2 separate regions of the Homo sapiens genome follow, and region 2 is linked to region 1. The links are contacts of gene promoters, found by promoter capture Hi-C in blood cells and fetal thymus (Javierre and others, 2016). All regions are on one chromosome and are shown on one strand. Each heading gives the region's core, a stretch centred on a gene start or on the middle of the fragment in contact. The rest is flanking DNA. Distances are from core to core; before and after follow the strand shown.

What was found. Contacts are between HindIII fragments. The CHiCAGO score rates a contact against its expected background, and 5 or more counts as called.
Region 2: a contact is called between the fragment with the promoter of FAM78B here and the fragment with the promoter of POGK in region 1, in 5 of 17 cell types (M1 macrophages, M0 macrophages, endothelial precursors and 2 more). The highest score is 9.6, in M1 macrophages.

What each region holds. Positions count from the first base shown.
Region 1 is chr1:166,835,811-166,842,753 of GRCh38, forward strand. POGK (pogo transposable element derived with KRAB domain) reads left to right here and starts at 3,665. Exons shown (of 6, transcript NM_017542.5): 1 at 3,665-3,794; 2 at 5,145-5,278. The coding sequence starts at 5,147. RefSeq lists silencers at 3,421-3,850, 3,951-4,190. The HindIII fragment of the contact is 10,121 bases long and covers 1-6,943 here.
Region 2 is chr1:166,162,932-166,169,366 of GRCh38, forward strand. It overlaps FAM78B (family with sequence similarity 78 member B), which reads right to left and starts at 4,070. Exons shown (of 2, transcript NM_001017961.5): 1 at 3,055-4,070. The coding sequence starts at 3,317. It overlaps LOC112268276 (a long non-coding RNA gene), which reads left to right and starts at 2,946. Exons shown (of 3, transcript XR_002958633.2): 1 at 2,946-3,123. RefSeq lists enhancers at 2,937-3,839, 3,011-3,180, 3,281-3,330 and silencers at 3,721-3,780, 3,821-4,310, 6,345-6,404. The HindIII fragment of the contact is 5,998 bases long and covers 1,650-6,435 here.

The DNA of each region.
Region 1 (6,943 bases), core at 2,415-4,914:
CTTCTTTGTTTTCTCTCCCCTTCACTCTGGCAGATGGAGAAAACCACAGGCCCCAGGTGGCGACAAAGCCAAAAGACAGAAGGAACACGGATCCTAAATCACGGCATCAGGAGTCACCTGTGGCAGAAACACGCTGGACTATTACATCAACCACACTTCTGTTGTGTTTGTGCCTTTATGCATTTGGGGTCTGTTTGTTACAGTAGCTATAATAGTATGACCCTAAGTGTTATAATTCCCTTTCCTCTTCTAAAGAAACCACTGAGTGTTCCTTAACTCTCTGAGGTGCTCTAACAACACACCTCCTCTCCAAGAACTTCTAAGTCCTTCCAAGGAACTGACCAGAGCAGGATTTTCCTTACCATTTTATCAAGATGTCCCAGGAATAACTTCTGGCTTTATTGGGTAATATTTTTGAAAACAGATAGGGTCTCACTATGTTGCTCAGGCTGGTTTTGAACTCCTGGCCTCAAGCAATCCTCCTACAGCCTCCTGAGTAGCTGGGATTACAGATACAAGCCAGCATGCCTGGCTTCTTATGGGGTAATTTCTAGGGCTAGGGCTCATATCTTGCTCTTCCTCTGAAGTGCCAGAATCCCAGGAAAGAGAAAGATACAGTCAGCAGTGATGCTCCTTCCCCATTTGGTTCTCTCCTCCTTTCCTCCCCATCTAGGATTTCCTTGTCCACATACCTGAGGATATGTACCACAAAATGGTCAATTCTCCTTCTCCTGCTTCAGAGCAACTCCTTGAGGGCCAAGACTGGGAGCCCTAAGGCCAAGGTTGCCTCTTGTCATCATCTCAATAAGCTACACCCTTAAAATTGCTCTATAACAAGGCACCCCAGAACTCAGTAGCTTAAAACAACAATAATCTCTTCTAATGGTCACTGGTCTTCATATTAGCAAGGATAGCTCTGTAACACATGCCTCCTTCTGATGCCTAAGTTGGAGGGGCAGTGACTACTTAAGCATGCTTTTGTCATAGCAGAGATCAAAAGCTCCCAGAGGTGCAAAGAGAAACTTCTGAGGCCTCTTAGGACTCAGGACTCACACACAGTCACTTCCTCCCACATTCCATTGGCTGAAGCTCACCATAGAAGCAGGCCAAGTGAAGGTGCATTGAAGTACATTCTGCACATGACACTTCAGCAAAGGTGTGGCTTATAACACTACCACAGGGACACAAAGTACCAAGACTATTACTTCAGTCTACAGCGGTCCCCGAGGAACAGACGTATGTGGGCCCGTGGCTATATTGACCTGGCCATGGGGCCTCTGCTGAAGGAAATCAGAAATGTGTATTCACCAGGGAACACTACAGTTAGAAATGAGTATTTTGTAAAATTTGAGGCTCTTTGGAATTCCTATAGTTTGGGTACTATAATAATTCAATAGGAGGAAGGATGAAGTCAGACCAACAGCATCATTAAAGAACTATTATGTTGATTAAATGGATGTTCGGCTGATATTAGCCACCAACTAAGAGAAACTCATCCTATTGAATTACCAGAGTAATGCACTGTCTCAAAGACTGGCTTCAATCACTCCCCATTCAGACTCAGATAAAGTCTTATGGAGAATGGGAACAATAACAGAGCTGAGAGAATGTTAGGACAATATATGGTTCAACTCTCTTTTTGCAGATGAAACACCAGCAAAGAGAAGCACAATGACTTAGAAAACCACTTAAACATGAGTCTGTAGTGTATTGTGCCTAGGCCAGCACGTTGCTCCTAGAGTAAGTCTTGTTAGCAATTACAGACCCGTAAAAAGGTGGATCCTCTAAGATCCTCTAACAGTAATTGAGATCATGGGGCTGTGGGCTCAAAGTCAAGAATTCGGGTGGGTCACTCTTAATTTCTTCCCAGGGACACCTAATCCAAGCCCATGAGAACATTAGGGCTCTCAGAGACTAAAACTCTAACATAGTAGGGTTTTTCGTGTGTGTGTGTCTGTGTGTGTGTGTGTGTGTGTGTCTATCTCAAAACTGTATTAATTTCTTTTCTAAGATGCTGGGGTGCCAGCAACATCCCTATTACTCTTCTCCCTTCCTAATGTCCTCCTCACTTTCTGTTTGAATCTGCCATTTCCTCAGAAAAATTAAGAGGGCAATGTCAATCAATTCAAACTAACATGTCACTCCTGTTCTACAAATACTTACTTTTACACAAAAATAATTGTTCATTAAAACAAAAAAGTAAATTCTAGCCTCCCTCCCAATATTTGAACGATCTTTTCCACCCACAGATTAGATCTTCTACGGTCTTGGGTTGTCACCGTGATTGCACTTCCAAGATGTGTACGTTATGTCATGCTACATTTTACGTGTTAAGAGCACAGTGCACAGTGACCTCTCCCATGACTGAGAGAAGTAAAATTCACATGTAAGTAGTAGTGGCCACAAAAACTTGGAAAGACAGGTCTTTTCCAACAGATATTCAGGTCTCAGAGACAATCTGAAGAGTTTGACGGACTCTTTCCTTGACCAAAGTTTAATCAGGCTTAAGTCCTCTTCTTCAGCAGGCCTCCACCCTGGTCCCCTGACCACTCACCCCGAACCTTTGGCCTGCCCAGCTCTATTTTAGCAAGAACCCTGCTAAGTTAGGTTAGAGAGAAATCACCACCCTTGATATCTGATCACCCTGGATATCTGATCAAATTTCTCATTCCCCCACCCTTGATATCTGATCGCCCTAGCCTGCCTTCAGCAAGAATCCTGTTAAGTGGGTTCAGCAAGAATCCCTCTAGGTGCTTGATGTCTCGTATCAGTAACTTTCCATCTACTGACCCCTTCGTTCTGCTCCTTGGCTATACATCCCCAGCTGTCCTTACTGTATTCCGTGTTAGACCTCATCTCTCCCCCCAGTGTGATCATCTTTACACCTATAGCAATAACCCTGTATAAAGTCTTCCTTACTGTTTTAACAAGTGTCAGAATAATTTTTTCTTCAACAAGTTCTCAACAAAAACCCATACCCAGAATCTTTTTCTGGAATGAAAAGGGCTTCAGGGCTTCTCAGGTCACTTTTGTTGTATTGCCCACAGAGCTGAGAGTAAACAACTCCTTTGGACGTTTTGGAGAAGAAAGGTCCTTCTATACACCCACTTCATCCAAGGAATTACATGCTTGGGATATTAAGCAACAGCTACAAAAATCAGGAAGTTCCTTCTCCATGTATATGACGAAGTTCTGGACAGGAGCCCGCTGCCAGAATACGAATACTCTTCCCCAAAGACCCCTCCTCATGCCCCTACACGCTCTTGCCGGTCTAGCCTTTCATTGCCTGAAGCACGGCGAGAACGCCTGGAGAGCTCGTCCAAGCAAGTGCAACCCGCTGGTGACTGCAAATGAGCACATGGAACTGTGCGCCCACGCTACGCTCGGTTAAAATCAATCTGGGCTCTTCCTGCCTCGTCCACGCCGAGGTCACACGCAGCACTGGAAGCGGCCTGCATCGGGCGGGGCGGGGAAGGCCGAGGGCACGGCTACCCAGGCCCGCCAGGGACTGCCCGGACCGGCCGGAAGCCGCGCCTAGAGGAGGGCCCCGGAGCTCGCGCGGGCGCCGTCCCCCGGCGCCGCCGAGGCCTGCTGACATCAGCCGCGCTCCTCCCCTCGCCTCCCAACACCCTCAGCTCCGGGCCGGACCCTCCCTCCTCCCACCACGTGTCCTCCCCGCTCCCTCCCGAGGGGCCGCGCGCACGGGAGGACGGAGAGGCGGAAAGGATGGCGCTGTGACAGCCGGGCCGGAGCCCTCGCGTCCCCACCCCGCGCCCTGGCCGCTGGGCCCGGCGGTGAGTGCGCGCGGGCGGGGGCGGCGGCGGCGCGGCCCCTCCCCCGGGTCCCGGGCGGCTGGGCCGCGGCAGAGGCGGGGGCGCCGAGGCTGCGCCGCCGCCGCCGCCGCCTTTGTTGCGGGCCCGCCGGGGAGGCGGGCGGCGCCGGCTCTCGCCGCCCGGCAGGTGCGCTGGGGCCGGGAGGGGGCCAGGTGGGGAGGCGGGCCGGGCGGAGGGGGCAGCGGAAGCGCTCCCGGCGCGGTTCCGCGGAGAAAGGGAAATGGGGCAAGATGGCTGGAGAAATCCGAACGCGCCCGGGGGCGCGGCGGCGGTGGCGCAGGCGGGGCAGGGCGGGCGGCGGCCCTGGTTGCGGCACCTTAGCGCGGGGAGGCGGCCCCTCCCACCTCTGCCCCGGAGCCGGCAGGGAGACCGCCGCCAAGTTCGGGCCCCAGCTGCAGGCATCTGAAGCCTAGACCCATCCATGCCGCGTTCGCCTATCTTTTTTGGAAATATCGAAGGAACCGACTTTGAACTCCAGAGGGATCTTTTCTTTGGAGGTTCCCCGATGCAGCCCTCAAGATGCATCCGCACTCCACACCTAGGAATTGCCCGCGCCCATAGAGGGCAGGAGTGCGGCCCTTTGTACTGGCCAAGAGTCAGCGAATAGAGAATTTGCAGCCCAGAGGCAATGGGTTATTTCCCTGTCGGGGTGGGCCCCAGCCGATTTCTGCACCTTTTTGGGTATCCAGGCATAACCCTCACTATGTTTCACTGACTCCTGCGTTTGCAAAGTCCCTTAAGGTAGAATGACCCTATTTTCTGAACCAGCTCGTGGACAGAACCTTTGAATTTGGAAAATCCAGGCAATGGGCCTACTGAGCCAACCGCTCCGCCCATGCTTAACTGGCTTCTAGCACCCATTCCAGTTGAGTAAGTGTCCAATCTGTGTTCAGACACCTTCACTGATAGGAAATCAGCACCTTTCCCCTGCCTCTGATTCCTGTTTGGGTGGCACTGGCTGTGAGAAAGTACTGCCTTTCTCACTGCTTAAAACCTTTTCCAGGAGTATTTATCCACTGGCCGGCCTCTGTTCTGCCGTCCAGTCTCTACAAACCAGTCTGGGTTCTCTTCCCCAGATAGCTTTTTAAATATTTGAAGGCAGCCAGATACGTTATCTACCCACAGCCTCTCTTATCATAATTAAACATGTCACCCTGTAGCTTCCTGGCCGACTCTTGTTTCCTTACTTCCCTCCAGCGGGAACAGTGCTTGGGGCTAAAGAGGTTTGTATGTGGCTCAGCCTCCCCCATCATAGGCTTTGGGGAGGTCACAGTGACACCTGGTTTTTCTGAACCTGAATCTTGCTTGCAGAGATGGAGTCCACAGCCTACCCTCTCAATTTGAGCCTGAAAGAAGAGGAAGAGGAAGAAGAGATTCAGAGCCGGGAACTAGAGGACGGCCCGGCAGACATGCAGAAAGTACGAATCTGCTCTGAGGGCGGATGGGTAAGTAAGAAGGTGTGGAGTCCACACAGCCAGCAGATGCAGGCCTGAGAGCCCAGCTTGCTTTAAGTCTCCTCCTCAGACAGACGTGGGAAGTAAAAATAGCCCAGCCCGGTGTGTTTGCATTCCTGAGAAAACAGCTCTGTGGCTTTAAAAGGCAGTGCAAAGAATGGAGGAGGTGTTATGGAAACAGTCCCTCAGCCATGTAGCTTGTCATCGTTCAATTGGAAGTCCTAGAAGCCAGGACCTTGTCTCTCTCGTTCACCCACTTATCCTGCACTGCGTTTGATGCCAGGCACATTGTAGGCACCAAGTAAATGTTTGTTGACTTACTGCTGGTTGAAGGGAACCATTTTAAATAAGACTCGAGTCATTGGGTTGACATGAGAGGTTAGGCTAGTTGGTTCTGTGTGAGCACCTCTTACCACAGTTGACACAGGAGAGCTGCCTGTCCAGCTGACCTGGATAGAAATGGTGGGCAGCAGGGAATACAGAGATTCAGGGTATACACGCAGAATAGTATGATAGAGGTCGGTTTATACAAATGCAAATGCAGTAGATACTTATAGTTACAGATAGTTATTCACCGTAGTTACTGGACTTCGTGGTAATTAGGCATGAATAGTAAACATTTTAAATAAGCAACAAATTGACATTCCTTTTCTCTGCTTATTTTCCGTTGTGTATAAACATTGTCAGTATACATAGTATCCTTTGCTTCCATGAAGAGCCCCTATCCATACAAGCATGGTACTTCTAAATTGTTCCCTACCAGAGGAGAGAACTGGGATGCAGAAAGATTATCTGCCTTGCCCTAAGGTTACACATGAACACTGACATTTGTTCTTCAAAACAGGTCTCCTGAGCTGCACCCTTAAAAGTAATGCATTTTACCATATGTATGCTATACCTTAATTTAAAAAAAAAAAAAACAGTGCAACCACAGGCTCTCAGTTTGCCAGTCTAGCTGTGGACACCGCGCTGCCTTTGTCTCATCAGTGTTCTTTGCCCACCACATCCTTCTTCCCAATTCTGATCCAAGCAGGCGTCAGGTCTATTTAGCCTGGAACAAGAACTCAAGGCAGTCAAAACTCAGGGCTTTGAGGCTAGATTGGTCAACCCAGAACATCTAAATGGAGAGCCTTGGAGAACAGGTGCAATGAAAGTGAATGTTGGGACAGTGAGGAAGGAGCAAGATGAAGACCAACCATGCTTAGGTGGGAAAAGAAGGAAGTAACCAGAAGGGCTGGAGGAGGGAGTCCAGCAGCTGGTGGTGCTGGGGATTGGGCATTTGTGGCCTCCAGGCAATCAGCCATCCATCCACAGTTACCAAGCACAGTGCTGGGCGTAAAGAGAGACTCTTTTCCTGATGGAATTTCCAGTCTTGTGAGCAAGGCAGGAAAGTAAACATAAGTAATAGTAAGCACAGTGTGCAGAGTGCAGTGGTGGAAGTCTGCAAGGATGCACCAGGAGCCAAGATGAGGGGATGCCTCATTCAGGCTGAGAACTCCGGGGCTTCCTGGACAAGGCCTAATCTTGAGCAGTGAGCAATTTTGCCCCCACCCCTGGACATTTGGCAACATCTAGAAACACTACCCCCTTTCCCCACCCCTGGATATTTGGCAATATCTGGAAACACTTTTGTTGGTCTGACTTGGTGGGGGTGCG
Region 2 (6,435 bases), core at 2,820-5,319, 670 kb before region 1:
TCACCTTGAGTCCATTCACCTCTAGAACACCCTGCTTGGCCCGCCAGCGCTCTCAGGCATTTCTTCCACACCACCAAAGAGCGCTGCTTTTCTCTGCATTTGTCGTCTTATAATGAGAAGCAGTGAAAACTGCCTGCATATTCCTTTTTCTTTGGTGCTGCTGCCTGCACAGCAGAAGCATTTGGTAAATGTTTGTATATTGACAGGTTGATTGAGAGAGTCAGGAGCCCTTCCTCCCCGAGGGATGAAGACTTGCAGCAGTCTGTTCAAGGCTGCACTAGCAAGATTCACCAGGGCCAAATGAGAAATAAATAGGTGCCACAACTCTTCACCAGCCTGGTTTCTATAGAATCATTCGAGGAAGTGCCATGGAAATGAGTTCAAGTTCAAATTAAGCTCTGGCCATCATAGCCATCAACTATTTCAAATGTTCTTTTAGAAGCCTACCCCTTCTTGGAAAAGTTTACAATTTAAACCACAAAACCTCAGGCTTTCTTTCAATCCTGTAAACAGGAGTTTCTTGCCATTTTATGTTGTGGATTTCCTCTGGCACAATCCTTTTCAAAATATTGAAAAGGCAGTTTTCTAATCCAAACCCTTTCACCATATTGTGGTTCATGTGACAGAACACTGCACAGAGGTGAAAAATCACTCCATGCTATTTTTTACAATCCAGATATTGGCTAAAGTAGACATAATAACTAATAGACTGCAGCAACTTTCATGCAATATGAATTCCCATTAAAAAGTTTACACTAGCAAAATTTTCCAGGCATAAATATCTTGTGGAAATTGGTTCATTCAAATTTGGGCTCCAAAGTGGCCTTTAACACATAGCAATTATTGCAACCATGAAGAAACAGGTAGACTGTGGACACAAATCTATAATAATATGCTTTATGATTTATTGGGGGTCTATTTTTGCTCTCCTACATCTACATGAAAACCAAGAATCTTAAAATATCAAAAGTGGCAGTTTAAAAACAAAACCACTTTCCAAATCCCAAATGCAAGGATTCAGTGGGGAAGGGTCAGGAATCCTGTCACTGATTCATATCCATTAAAGTTGGTTCCAGTGAGGACATACCTTCCCTATAGATTCCAGGAAGTTCAACTACCATGTCTGTTTATATCTCAACTTGACTTCTCCTAAGGTAAAGTAAGTTTTACGGAAATAATTCTGTATTTATATATTTGCTTTTACTTATTCATAAGAGATTTGAGGCAACAGAGAGTTCCGCTGTGCAGTCTTGGGAAAAGTGAGGCTGCTTCTGCACAGTCACTCCTGGCTTCCTCTACCAGGGGCCCCAGGCTGCTGTGGGGAGCACTTGCTGTCCTCCAGCAACCCACTGCCATCAGGGTGAGGCCAGGGAAATGAGAGGAAGGGCTCTTGCCCTGCCTGTGGCTTTCTCTGACTTGGCTGGAAACAATGGATTTATTTTAAAAAGCAGTTTTAAGAGACACATGTGTTCACATATAATCATTCTTTTGAGGGTATGTCAGTTTTTAAATGGCATGATTCGCCCCAAATAAAATATCCCCCATTTCTCACATCTAGCTGTCTTCTCTGGAAGAATACAGTGTGCTGAGGCATATTGGAAACTGGGCCTCACATTTCTTCACTAGGAATTGAGTTTTCTCAAGGATTAAGCTTTTGTGCTTAAAGAGAAAAGTGCAAAATCTTTGGGAGGAAAAAAGGAAAACAACGACCTGTCAAATTTCTTTTAGCGCCTATGACTAGTGTTAACTGACATGCTCTCAGAGTGCAATAAAAAGCCTGCAAACTGCTGCTAAAAAGATGGTTTGACCTTTTAAAATGGGAACTCCCCCACCCCATATCCATATTAAATAGACGAACCTTGGGAGCTCTAGAGTTTTAGATTAATAAGTGAAATGAGGTTGAATTTCCAGAAAAAGGGTTTCCCTGTAGGCTGCAGACTGGCTAATTAGGGTGTTCTAGACCTACATTGTAACAGCAGGTAGAAGGCAGGCCCTAAACCTTTTAGCTATTGTCGTTGCCACCTGCTCAGAGTCTAGTTCTGAAAGGAGGCGGGTGCGGAGTTATGAAAATTTGGTAAATATAAAAGTCCCGGACGCGACCGCCCGTAGCCTGCGGCCCCTGGCGGTTGAGGAGCCGCGGCGATCCTTGGTCTTCACCGCAGCAGCCAAGCCCGGCGCGCACCAACCGGCGCTGCTGAAAGTTGGAGAGCTCCCAGCTCGCCGATAGAATTCGGCGGTGGGCGCCAGGGGAATCCCTTCCAGTGCCGCAATTAGGAAAGTTTTAAAAAGTAAGGACCCTAGACAGACAAGAGATCCATCCTTTCCTTTAGCATAAGAAACACCCCGCGCCGCGCCAGCCGAACGCTGCTCGCACAAGGCTATCCGCCCTTCTTGGCCGGGACGCACTCGGTGCCTTCCAGCTCCCCACCAGAACTGGTCCAGGGGGCGCGGAAACAGAGAGGCAACTGTGTCCGGCTTGTGGTTCCAGACGGAAACGCCTCCGGGCTCCCTGGCCCGGGGGACAAGGGTTCGAAACTTCAACAGTCGCGAGGGCAAGGACAGAACTACCAACTCCCGCTCGGATGCCCGGGACCTGCTCTTCCAAGCCCGCTCCGGTTTCTCCAAAGGACGCGCGGCACAGCCCATGCGCCCCCGGCACTCCACTCCACTCCTCTATGGTTTCCCCCAAACTCTTCCCGGGGAGCCCCACAAAGCACAGACGGCGCCCTGAAACTCGCCAGGCACTCGCCAGCCATCCCCACCTCCGCCTCTCGAACCCTCCTTGTCGCGTTCTTCCCGCCCCGCACCTTTCTCCTCGCGTTTCTGGGAAGTCAGAAGCAAACCACGAGAAAATGCCTTCGCAAGGAGCCTCCCTACACCCGCCCTGTCACTGAAACAAAAGCGTAGGGAGGAGGGAGGTGGGAGAGGAGGCGGGAGGAAGGTTTAGAAAGACGATGGGGACAGCAGTAGGAAGGAGCTGGGGAGGGGGGTCAAGGTGGCAAGCAGAGCTGGGGGCCCAGAGTCCGCTCCCGTGCCGCGCGGCGAGTCGCTTACATGCCCAGGTCGCTGTAGGTGTTGAAGAACTCCATCTGATTGCACGCCTGAATCCAGCCCACCACCCAGGTCTCGTGGCGGGGGATGGGGGGCATGACCACGCGGGCGGAGGCTTTGAAGTAGGGGGTCTTGTAGCGCAGGACGATGGGCGAGGTCTCCTCGATGCGCGTGGGGCACTGGTCGATGGTGGCGCACACATCGTACACCACGATGTTCTCGCGCCGGATCCGCGCCTTGCAGGTGATGCTTTGGATACAGCCCATCCTGCAGCCCGGTGCCGGCACGGCGCGGCGTGGGGCAGCGCGGGGGCCCGCGCGGGCAGCCGGGGGCGCCCGTCACGCCGGCATGGCGACGCGCCGCTCGCTCCCGGTCAGACTCAGCTCGCACCTAGGAGCGGGGAGCCGCCGGGCATCCTTGGGGAAGCCCCCTCCTCTTGCAGCCGCGCGGGGTCCCCGCTGCCCCGACGTCCGCCCACGCCCGCCCCCTCGCTCCGGCAGGGCGCGCGGAGGGTGCACTCCTAGGAGGCGGCGGGTGCCCTCGCCGGCTCCAGCGCCCGGGCGGAGGGCAGGGAGGGGAGCGGCGCTGCGAGGAATGGTGCCCACCCCGGGCCGGAGCCCCCCGCCCCTCGCCGGAGAGGAGGAGGCGGCAGCGGCGGCGGCATGGAGCCGGGGGAGGGCGGCGGTGGCAGCGCCCGGTCTGTCTGCCTCCGCGGCGGCAGCAGCAGCAGCCGCCGCCGCCGCCGCCGCTGCATGAACCTCTGCACCACGGCTGCCCCCCGCGTGCAGCGCACCCAGCGGCGGGCGAGCGGGCGGCCCAAGAGGCAGGCGGAGGCAGCAGCGGCGGCGGCGGCGACCGGAGCTCCCGCCGGCCCCGCCCCGTAGCCGGACCACACCGACACTCCTCGGCCCGGCTGCCTCGGCCCGGGGGGCGCCAGGAGGCTGTGGCCCGGGGTGGAGAGCCCCAACGGCTGGAGCAGCACAGGACGTGCTCCGCGGAGGAAACTGGCTGTACGCCATGAGTTTTGTCCCTATTCGGCTGCCGTCCGGGTGGGGGGGGGGTAATGTGTAAGGGTGGGGGTGTTTAAAGGGCCGCTAGCGCCGGGGTGGGGCCCCGCACGTGGGGCTGAGGCGGGGCGGGGCCCTGGTAGGTGGTGCCCTGGGGTGGGGGTGGGGGACTAGGGCGGGCCCAAGCGCCACCGGGTGGGTGAGGCCGAGCAGGGCGCGGCGCTGTCCAGAGTCCAGTGGGGAACCCGGTAGCCCAGTAGGGGCTGTAGAGTGAGTGTTTCGGGCAGCAGAAGGGTTAGGGGAACAGCTTTATCAGAGATTGGTCGTTATTCAGAATATAGCTTGTTGGATTAGATTTAGGCTTGAGCCCTTTTAGTATCCTACCTTCAGAAAGGGTGAAGGGCGGGCTCCAGCAGCGTTACTAAATGCAGTGTATTTGCCTCTTTGCCTGACTGGGTTTGTTCTGGAAGCTCTTCTTTCCACCACTGTGTGTAGTGGGGATACCGGAAGAATCCCTCCGTACTCCAGCACTAAGTCTCTCATATGCCAGAGTTTTGGCAGACATTGGGCATTGTGTACAGTATGACCACGGTCATGTGTCTGATACTGCAGTCTAATGTGCCAAACAGGAAGAATATTTAGCAGATGCTTTTACTAGGCATCTTCTTACATTTTTATTTTCAAAGCCAATAGCTTCTAAGTATTTCTTCTGCGATCATTGAACATTTGCTGGATCTGCTGCCCAAGTGTGAAATACTGACTAACAGGCCGCAGGAGGTGCTAGAGTTAGTCTTTAGCTAGGACAGGTGTGACGAGTAATTTAAAAATTGATTGAGATCTAAAAGCACTCTTCATCCTTGTTTTAACTGTTCTGACACCTTGGTTCACTTTATAGTTAACAAAAAAGCAGTTTTTCCCTTTGATGACTCGTCTCTCTCATTTTACCGTGTAGCCACAGACCTCAATCACTGGTCCTTTCATTCAGCAAAGGCTGACTGCCTGCCTGGCAGGAGCCAAACATAGTGCTAGGTACTAGGGATTCAAAGTTGAAAAAGAGCACATGGATCACTGGAGAAAATAAACCTGTTAACAAGTTATTATAGTAAACTGTGACACCTGCTTTAGTGGGGTTGTGTATCCAGTGCCGTGGAAGGCCAGACATGTAAATCTCTGGCCACATGTAAATCCCTCAGTGGTCAGAGAGCCACTCAGTGGCTCTCTGGCCACTGAGAGATTTACGTGTGACTTTGCTCAAGTAGTGACATTTAAATTGAATACTGACAGACTGTAGAGTCTCACTGAAAAGAGAAAGGTGAATGAGTAGTACAGGACCAGCATTTGGCAAATGCAAAATGCATAGAGATATGAAAGAACTCATCCTGTACTGAGGGGGAGAAACAACTCACAGTCAAGGCATTTCTCAAGGTGTTATGTGTCGACCATGGGCATCAGAATCACTGTCCAAGAATCAATTGGTTGTTGATAGACCATATCTTTTTTCTTTTTAAAATTAAGACTACAGACTTTATTTTGATTTTACTAGTTTTTCCACTAATGTCTTTTTTTCTCTAGAATCTAATCCAAGATATGATGTTGCATTTAGTCATTACATCTCCTTATTCTTCTCAATCTGTGACAGCTTCTCAGTCTTTCTCTGTTTTTCATGACCTTGACATTTTTAAAGAGGACTGGTCAGATATTCTGTAGAATTGTTCCTCATTTGCATTTATCTGATGTTTCCTCATGATTAGACCAGGGTTTTGGATTTGGGGGATGAATACCATGAAGATGAAGTGCCTTCTCATTGCATTATGTCAGGGGTACATGATAGCAATATGACTTTTTACTGGTGTTATTAACCTTGATCACTGGGTTTGGTGAATAATTTTTTTAACTTTTAGGTTCAGAGGTACAGGTGCAGGTTTGTTATATAGGTAAATTGCATGTCATAGGGGTTTGTTGGACAGATTATTTTATCACCCTGGTAATGAGGATAGTACCCAATAGGTATTTTTTTTTTATCCTCTGCCTCCTCCTACCCTTCACCCTCTAGTAGGGCCCAGTGTCTTCTCTTGATAGGACCTTATCTTAAACTTCAGTGGAAGCCAATGAAGGCAAGCCATGCATTTTGAGAAAAATTACTCTGCATCCATATAGAGAATAGAGGAGGCAGCGTTTCAGAATATTGTGATGACAGATACTTTGACCCTCGGCTAGCTTGGGGCAGTGCTGTGGGGCTGGAGAGGCCTGGCTGCATTTGCATTTAAGAATCACTTAGGAGGTAAATGTATTTACTTGGTAACTGAACAAGGTGATAGAAGGGGAAGCAGCTTGGGACTGTGGGTGATGTCATGTTAAGTTCGAGGTTCTTGGAGGT